Linked DNA regions of Homo sapiens: region 1 is linked to region 2. The links are contacts of gene promoters, found by promoter capture Hi-C in human tissues and cell types (Jung and others, 2019). All regions are on one chromosome and are shown on one strand. The core of a region is centred on a gene start or on the middle of the fragment in contact, and the rest is flanking DNA. Distances in the headings are between cores, read along the strand shown. Region 1 overlaps ADCYAP1R1 (ADCYAP receptor type I). Region 2 holds the start of ADCYAP1R1 (ADCYAP receptor type I).

Evidence for each region. The method cuts DNA at HindIII sites, captures the fragments that hold promoters and counts their contacts. A contact is called where the count stands out against the background at its distance.
Region 1: a fragment that was not itself captured here is called in contact with the fragment with the promoter of ADCYAP1R1 in region 2 in 2 of the 25 tissues and cell types used here (dorsolateral prefrontal cortex and spleen).

What each region holds. Positions count from the first base shown.
Region 1 is chr7:31,104,391-31,109,265 of GRCh38, reverse strand. It overlaps ADCYAP1R1 (ADCYAP receptor type I), which reads right to left. Exons shown (of 16, transcript NM_001118.5): 15 at 4,357-4,398; 16 at 1-2,770. The coding sequence ends at 2,582. Among named protein-coding and RNA genes, the nearest start is that of ADCYAP1R1, 55 kb to the right of the region's middle. RefSeq lists an enhancer at 2,410-3,205. The HindIII fragment of the contact is 5,427 bases long and covers 1-4,810 here.
Region 2 is chr7:31,050,671-31,054,914 of GRCh38, reverse strand. It overlaps ADCYAP1R1 (ADCYAP receptor type I), which reads right to left and starts at 2,607. Exons shown (of 16, transcript NM_001118.5): 1 at 2,237-2,607. The HindIII fragment of the contact is 8,235 bases long and covers 1-4,244 here.

The DNA of each region.
Region 1 (4,875 bases), core at 848-3,347, 55 kb before region 2:
TGGAACATTGAGAATACATCAGGTACATCTGCTCACAAGACTGGCAAAAATTCACTCAGACGGAAAAACAACCAACTAACCAATAGGAACCCGGCACCTCTATGAGGATGCAGGGCCAGGCTCAGGAAGCAGCACAGTGCATGGGGTTCAGGGTTGATTTTGTTTTTACTGTTTTGTGATGATGTCTCTATAATGCCAAAGTTTCTTCTTCCACAATGAAAACTGTTGGGAGTCATGATGAATGAATGGGGTCCATCCCCAGGGGGCTGCTCCTTGGATCTGGAGCTGGCCACTGGAGGTGGCACCCCACCCCAGCAAGGTATATATGACTGCATCTATACATCATGCCCAAGGCACCTGTTCAAATGTCCATGACCTAATCCTTCCTTCCAGGCCACCAGCTTCCACTGTGGTGTCCAAATGGAAGGGACAGAAGGTCCATTTCCAAGAAAGGGAAAATAAACAGCATCCTGTCCATCCCTCTACACACACACACACACACACACACACACACACACATATATTCATCAAAACCTGATATGAGGCACAATGATGAATGCCCTTTTACCTGTCTTGACTTTGAACTGGAAAAATCACTTACGTGCAGGGCCTAGAGAAGCATTGGAAGTTGCCTCATCTCACAAATGGGAAAACTGGAGCCCAGAACAAGGAGCATCGTGTCCACAGTCACAGCAGTCTGAACCCAACTGGGATAGAGTCTAGTTCCCTGAACCCTAGGCCATGGCTCCTTCCAAGCAGCCCAGACCCCCTAGCAGTGCCCAAAATGCAAGATGTCCACAGGACCCTTGCTTCAGTAATGCACACCAGTGCAGGTGGAGGGGATCATGAGGTCAGGTGCAGGGTAGAAGGGCCACTGCACACTCCAAGATCAATCTGAGTCACCAAGCATGCCCAGGAAAGGGCAGGTAGCTCCTTTCTTCCTCTGGCTTTGCCAAAGATCCAGGAACTTACTTGACTGGCCAAGGACACAGAGCTCCTCTCTAAATTACAGCAACAAGAGCCTTTTCCAGCCACTCTGAAAGCCTCTCCAGAAACATTTTCCCAAGTCTCCCAGGCCCCTTCCTCTTTATAAAATGAAGTAACATCCTCCTCCACCCAAAGTCCCCAAGCATTCCAGAGCATCATCATGAAACAAGTCTGCAAACAGAATTTGGACAGGAGTAACACCAAATGCTGACATGGAATGAGCTAGGCCACACACGGACCATGTACTCTAGCACTTTCCTCTACCTCCCCAGCTGGGCACTGCCCTATTTTACATTCTCAGGCTGAGGGTGTGCAACCTGCAGCTGGGGAGCCAGGGCGGGTGGTAGGGAGCAGCTGCCACATCAGCAGCAGCCTCTGCTAATGGGCATGTTGGGTGTGGCTTCTCCCGACACCCCAGCAGCCCATGGTGAGTCAAGGTCAAGGGCATAAAAGGGACATCTTTGCAGAGGTCTCAGAGAGATTTCAATAGTTGAGTCCAGGCCAGAGGAGCTGGTGTCTGGGGCTCCTCATCATCCATGGGAGTGGGGGTCGGGCAGCCCTGGGCCCCAGATTCGGGTGCAGGTGCTTCAGGATTCGCCGACATCAGAGGCAGGTGGCTGGTACATCCTAGTCATGGCTTTGACTTAGGGGAAATGGGGAGGGGAGGGCTTAAGGGCTCTCTGTGGTGTGCATGGTTGGAGACAGCTTCTGGAAGGCATCCATGAGGGTGGAAGAGGTGGAAGGGAGATGACCAGAAGAACCCTGTCCATCTTGAGCTGGGGGTAAAACAATGGAGATGGCGAAGGTTTTCTTCCATGGGTCTCCCAAACTCCGTCTCTTTCGCAATCACAGCCACATTTCTGGCTCTCAGCTCCTTTTGGATCAAACGAAAAGCACCAGAACCTTCCCTGACCTGCAGACTCCCCACCCAAACTGAAGTCTCTGATGAGAAGAGCCTGGGAGCTGTCCCACTGCCCTGGGACCCAGGAGCTGAGCACCCGGACACCAAGATGCCAGGCGAGTGCCAGGAGGCCTGCACCAAGGGGTGTTCTGGCCACCCGAGCTGGCCCTCTGCTAGGCTTCAGGGACTTGGGCCCAGGACTGAGAAGAGCCCCAGGGTGGCATGCACACTCGAGGGGTCACACCCAAAATCAGATGATGGGGGGCTGTTGGGGCAGGTACCACCCCAGCTCCCACAGGCAAGGTCTCTTCAGCCTTAGCTCACAAGGCCTCACAGCTGGGGTCAGGCCATCACTGAGGCTGACCAAGAAACAGTGGGGTGGAGCTGAGACCTGACTGGAAGTGAGCAGGGACACTGGGGCAAAGGGGGAAGGGATGGGACAACTTTTCCAAATTTGAGGAGTATTTACATGTCTGGGGTCAGGGCCCAGGGGACCACAGTGGGTGGGACCAGTACCAAAACAAGGAGGGGACAATTCCAGTCTGTGCCCTGCCTCCTTCTCCCCCCTCAGGAGCCAAGCTTCCAGCCCAGGGCCTGCCCAAGGGGAGGGAAGAGGCGCAAACATGCGTGGGCTGGCACCTGCCTGCGGTCCCAGCCTGTGGATGGAGGAGAGGAGGAGGAGGGGAGCATGGCTCAGGTGGCCAGATTGTCAGCAGGGAGGCCAGACATGCGGATTTGGGAGCTGCTCTTGCTCAGGATGGAGAGCTGGGTGCCCCCATTCACCCCACTGCTGGCCAGAGACGGGTGTCGGTGCTTGAAGTCCACAGCGAAGTAACGGTTCACCTTCCAGCTTCGCCATTTTCGCTTGATCTCCGCTTGTACCTGCAGGGAGCAAACTGGGCGGTCACTTCCAGATGGACATCCTCTGCAGCCTCCAGGCCCTGTCCTGGCCTGGGGCCCTTCCCAGGCTGGCAGTGCCACCCTCAGCACCCTCCCCACTCCCCAGTTGCAGCCTGCGGCCCTCAAGGTCTCCAGTGGGGGCTTTTAGCAGCTGTAGGCAAGGAAGCCTCTGAGGAGCTGACCGGAACAGCCCCTTCCCTTGCCACTTTCTGAGCAAGGCCCTCTAATGGCTCCCTGTTGTTTTCAGGCCAGGCAGAGAATAGTCCATTGGGTCCTTCAGGAAATCTTTAACAAGCAGTCCCACAGGGCAGGTGGATCAGGAAAGGATCCCCACTCTTGGCTGACCAGTAAGAGTGGGCTACACATTAGAATTACCTGGGGGGCTTTAAAAATTCCAGATGCCCAGGCCATACCCCAGAACAATTATATCAAAAGTTCTGCACAAGACCCAGACATCATATTTTTTAAAGCTTCCCAGTCAGGGTTGAGAACCATTAAATAATGCACCCCTCTGGGAAAACACACACCCATGTAGCTCTTAGCATGGTGAGTGGGGGCCATGCTGAGTCTCAGCCTCCATGTGCCTTCTCAGTCAAGCACCTTCGTGCAGTGCACAGACTGCACAACTGGAAGCAGCGCCTACACCCACCCTCTCCAGTTCCAGCTCCTACTTTCACTGCAAGCTCTGAACAAGCTACATACATGCCCACTTCTAAGCTCTCCTGGCCACTACCTGCAGGGCCCTTTCTGCCTCTCTTGTCTGTCCTAATCTGATCCTTCTGTAGGTTGTCTGGGCGATCACAGAGCCCAATCTCTGTTGCTCAGATGCAAAAGAGGGAGGAGCCTGCCAAGGTGATGCAGCTAAGACCCAAGCACTGGTGCAAAGACTCCCGCCTACTCTCAAATCCACCCTAGCCATTCAGTCCCCACCGCTGCCCCAGCACCTCTGTTTTGGGTTGTGCTCAAGCGCTTTACCCCAATAGGGTACAGAGGGAGCCCCCGAACCACAGCTCTGGCAATGGAGTATTAATAGAAGGTTCCAGGTCTCTCCCTGGGGTCTCTTCCAAATTCTCACAGTCTCCCTTCTACCAGGGGACAGTTTGGGCCAGGCTGGCTGGCCAGTTAAGGGCAACCCTGAGTGCCAGGCAGCTCCTGGCTCAGCAGCTCTGCCTAGCACAGCCTCATGGCCTGTAGGTCCTATGTCCTGTGCCCCACCCTTCCTTATTGTCAATTCCTCCTCACCACGGAGTGTCTTATGGAGAGGACCCTCCCAGGGAGATCTGCGCTCAGCAGAGCCGACGCTTTTACCAGGAGCTTTGCTCTTTGGGTGGGGCCTTAGCTGCACAGCTGGCAAAGTGGGACAGATTCCAGCACAGGGTGTGGGTATCAGGAGGTCCTGGCACCACACAATGCCAGGAGCTGTATGACCAGCCCCTCCTCTCAGTGCTGGGAGCCTGGCAGAGCCCTCTCTGAAGAGTCAGTCCCATGTGGCCAACAGGTGGTTCCCCTGTCTGCTCCCCAGAAAGCCCCACTTCCACTGCCAAGAAGCCAGAGGGCCAAGGTCTTACCTCACCATTCAGAAAACAGTAGAGAACAGCCACCACAAAGCCCTGGGAATAGAGAAAATAAGCCTGAGGATGCTAGCAAAGGACTTTCTGAAATGCTGTGTGGGGCATGGAGGGGATGACTCTAGGAAGCAGAAATACACCATGACCTGGATGGGGGCACCTGCCCAGGGATCTGGGGTAAGATGGGACAGTTCTACTCTACCAAGATGGGCACACCCATGAGGCCACGTGGCTGGTGGTCAAGTCCTGTCCCACAGATACATTCTAGCTTTGGATCTCACATTCCCTTGGTCAGATCCTTCCCATTCCCAAAGGCCAGCTCTATCCCACTTCCTATAAGAAGCCTTCCCTGAATGCCCTAGAATTTCTCTTAGCTCCTAACCATCCTGCAGGCTTCTGAGGGTAGGAACCCTCCAGGACAGAACAGACCTGTGCCATCCTTGTCCACCATCATCTCCCCAATCTGCCCTCCTTGGGCCAGATACTATCATACACAGCAATGCAGAACACCACGCAGAG
Region 2 (4,244 bases), core at 1,358-3,857:
AGGCCTTCCAGGGTGGAAAGCCACTTGGCAGCTCCTGTCTGGGGCATCATCCCTCTGCTCACAAACCTGCCCAGGACAGGAAACTCATTGTCACCTCCAGTGTCAGCCCCATGGTGGGTGGGTCTCAGGCAAGCAAGGCCTTCCTGGCACCGAGCTAAGCTCCGGCTCTGCACTTGGCACACCTTGGTTCTGCCCTGTGGCAGACAGCACAAGATGTCCTCCACTTAATCAGTGCCAGCCCCAGGTCAATGAAATGCTTGTCCCTGGGAGGGCGGCAACCTGGGACACTCCAGCTTAAGCCCTGTCCCCAAGAGAAAAGCCACCCTGTGGCCTTAGCTTTCCTAGCCTCTCAGCCACATATACTATAAACTCCCATGTGTGTATTTATTTATTCGACACAAATTGAGGGAGTGTCCCAAAGTTGACGCACAACAGAGAGAGGTGGCCATGTGAAAAGCCATGGGTCCCAAAGTGTTTCTCCAATCAATCCCCTGCCAGCCTGAACCTTATACAAAACAGGACTTAATGCACCCCTTAGCTTAGATCAGTCCCGAGAGTGCAGGAGAGGGATCCTTTCAGAGGCTCCCCACAGACACCTCCCCTCACCACACATGGGGACAAACAGACTTTTGGGGGTCTTGTCCCAGACACCCAACCACCCATGAACCACCCATGGCCAAAGAGGAAAAGTATCAGGCCCGCCTCCATCGTCACCCCACACACACTTGTTGATGGATCAGTTGGAAGAGCTGGCCCAGGGCCTGCTCAGCGTGTTCCACCTCCAATCTGTATGTTCAGATTTCGGCTTGTGTCCAAGCTGGTGCCTCTGCCTGCCCTCCCCAAGGTCAGTGAGGAGCAGAACTTAGCTTAGGACTGGGGACTCCACCAGTGCTACTTGTACCCAGCACCAAACTCATTTAATTGGGGTCTCCTGAGAAAACCTGGGTGCTGCCTGCTGCCCCTGCCCCCAAAGGCTCAAACATAGTTTTCCATCTGCTTGGGAATCCTACCGCCACTCAAAGCTTCTAGCTTGACCTTCAGGATGCTTGTCTGCCTCTGGCCAGCTGCAGTCCCAGGGCAAGTTGCCCTCCACATGCTGCGTCCAGCCCCTTCCCATCCCCCAACTCCTCCCCAGGGCCGCTCATGGGAAGAGCCAAATGCTGTGTCTTGGAGAGGGCCAGGGGGGCTTTGCGGGACATTGTAAGGCTGGGGAAGATAAAGGGAGTCTGACGCACCTGCACTCAAAAACATAAAAATGGTCGGAAGAATTAGCAGGTGTCCACCACCCCACCCCCATCTTCCAAAAAGGGGCTGAGCTCCATCCAGGGGTGAGGCTCCCCTCCTCAGCTCCACGTGAAATGCAATCGGCTTCCGGCTGGGTTCCCTCCTGAGGGTCTAGTTGCATCCATCGGCTCCCCTGTCCCTTCTGAGCCCCCTAACCTGCCAAGGTCCCGCCGAGGATGTGGCCTCCGCCCCCCGCAGCCGCCGCAGGAGCTTCTGCCTCTAAAGCGGCAGGCAGGGGTCTCAGCGGGCCCACTTCAACCTGGGAAGGCCGGTGCGTTTCCCCACAGACCCCGCAGGGCGTTTCTTCTGGGGACCACTGAAGCCCTGGCATCCCCAACCCCAGCCCCTCCGCGCCACGGGAAACGAAGACGACACTCTTTTGAACAATCCCGGATGTGTCACCACAGAGGGGCATTCTACACTGGCCCCTACCCCAACCCCCACCTAGCACATTGCTTGCCCACCCCTCAAACCCCGTGCGGATTGCGGTACCTAGCCCCGGGGGACCCTCCAGCCCTGCCTTCCCGATCCGCGTAGGTGCGTCCGTCCACCTAAGGGTAGGGAGGCATGTCCCTCCGGGTCCCTCCGGCCGCATGGCTTGCCTGCCCCCCTGGTCTCCCTTCTCCGCATCAGGAGGGGCGTGAGATAGCTAGGTCGACCCCCACCCCGGCAGTCTGCGGCGATCGGCCGCCCCGAGCGCAGCGCCAGACACTTGGGTTGGGGGGTGTCAGCCTGACGCGCAGGAAGGGCGCAGCGGCGGGAGGGGGCTTCATTTCAGATCTGGGAGGCTTGCCTGGCGCCGGCCCTCGCCCGCTCTCCGTCGGTGGAGGTCGCGGCTGGCGGAGACCGCCAAGCCAGAGGAGGGGATCCGAGGTCCCGGCTGGGCGAAGGTTCTGGAGGGGGAGAAGACGGCCGAGGCGTGGAGGGGCAGCCGCGGCGGGGCGACCCTTACCTGCTCACTGCGGGGCCTGTCCGTGGGGCCGGGGCAGACTCCGCAAAGGACGCGCAGCCTGCAAGTCCGCGGCCCGCGCGGCGCGGGGATGGGGAGCGTGTGCGCCGAGGAGCGCGCGCCGAGCCGGGTCTCCGCGCCTGTGTGGCCGGCTGGCGGCCGGGGTCCGTGTGTCCCTGCGCGGCGGCGTGTGCGTGTGCGCACGCGGGGACCACGCTCGCCCGGAGCCGCCGCCGCCGCCGTCACTCCCTGCCCGGGGCCGAGCGCAGCGCCCCCTTTGCCCGCCCCGCGCGGCGCGGCAGTCCAGCTTGGCTCCGTCCTGCGGGAGAGGCGCCGCCTCCGCCGCGAAGCCAGGCTGGGCGCTGGAGGGAGGCGACCGACCACCGCCTCCCCCTGCTCACTTCACAGGCTGGGGAGGGGGTGCTGCAGGCCAATGAGCGCCCGGGGGCGGGGTTAGATCGAGGGCGGTGCGGTGGGGGGCGCGGTGGGGGGCGCCGGGCTGCTCAACCCGACCCCACCCGCAGCACAGACTGGAGCAGGAGCTGCGGCGGGAAATCCCAGCGGCGGGGGTCGGGGGCGCTGAGGTGGAGCCCTCAGCCCCCTGTCATCCCCGTCTCCTCTGACTCTGGGCCTCCTGGGCTCACCACCCTCTTTCCAGTCTCTCCATCATAGCCAGGACTAGAAAGCCTTCTTTCTTCTCCCTAGGTCCTCAAGATTTCCTGTGTATCAGAGCCTGTCTTCCCTCTCCTCCAAGAAGCCTTCCTTACCAGGCAAGTCTCAGACCCTCCTTGGGCTCTTCTTTGCCCCTACCGCCCAGGCCTGGGAGGGTCAGCTAGTTTTGGGGTGCCTGTCGGGATGTCCTCCAATGTGACCCCCCCGCCCCCGGAGAAAGACCAGGAAGGGGATGGTGGTGCTTACAGGACAGAGGCAACTTAAAATATCAGACTGCCTGGCTCCAGTCCCTGCTGTGCCACAGCTCTGTGAGCTTGGGTAAGTGGCTCAGCCTCTCTGAGCTTCAGCTTCTTCATCTGCACAAGGGAACAATAGTACCGGCCCCCAGGTCTCTTCACAGCAGCATTAAATAAAAATGGTACACTCACCCCATAGTAGTTTCTCCCTGGTATCATTGATTCGCCGATGCTGAATAAATTACTATTGCTACTGTTATTACAGTCCTGTCCAACCTCCTCCTAGTGCAAATGGCTTAATAAGGAGAACTACACAGGTAAAGGTGGCCTAGCGGGTTGGCAGCGAAGCCCAAACTTAACTGAGAGTAGTTAGTTACCCACTCCCAGGCAAGTTCTCACCCTCTGCCCACCCCACCCAGCCCCCATCCCACAGCTGCTCCTGCCTGCCTCTGCTCTCGGTTTTTGGTCCCTGCCTCAGGCGTCAGTCTCTGAGAGCTCTCAGTTCTGCAGCCAGGCTCTGTTCTTGCCCATTCAAGTAAATTCTCGCTCAGCTTCCCTTTGGGTCCAAGTTCTAGGTATGGCCACCTTGTCCAGGAGGCCTCAAGAAGGGGGAAGGAGGAGGGAGAGCCTTGAGCCTTCCTTTGGGGTCGCCAGTCTACCAAAGAGGAAAGGACCTGTGGATGGAGAGGAATCCATATGGAAACTTGAAAGAAGCAATCTGAGGGCCCAGAAAGACGCGTGGAGGTTCCTAGGTCCATGTTTCTCTTTACTGACCAATGACCGCTGACCCCCATTGACACAACACACTGGTAGTCTGATTGGTTCATGTTCCTTTCAGTCCAGGAGAGCTTCCTGGTGGAGGAGAATATCAGTCTTATCTATATCAAGAAAGAATGAAGAGAAAGGAGAGAAGAAATAATGGAGAGAAAAGGGCCAGGTGCTGTGCTAAAATCAGACACAGACAGGACCTCCCTTTAATCCTGGCTAACCCCTTCTTAGCTTGTTGCCCTAACCCCTGAGAGCTGAGAGCCGCTTTCTTCATCTGCCTCCAACTCTGGTGTTGTGAAGATCAAATGAGATGATGTGTATAAAAACTCTCTATA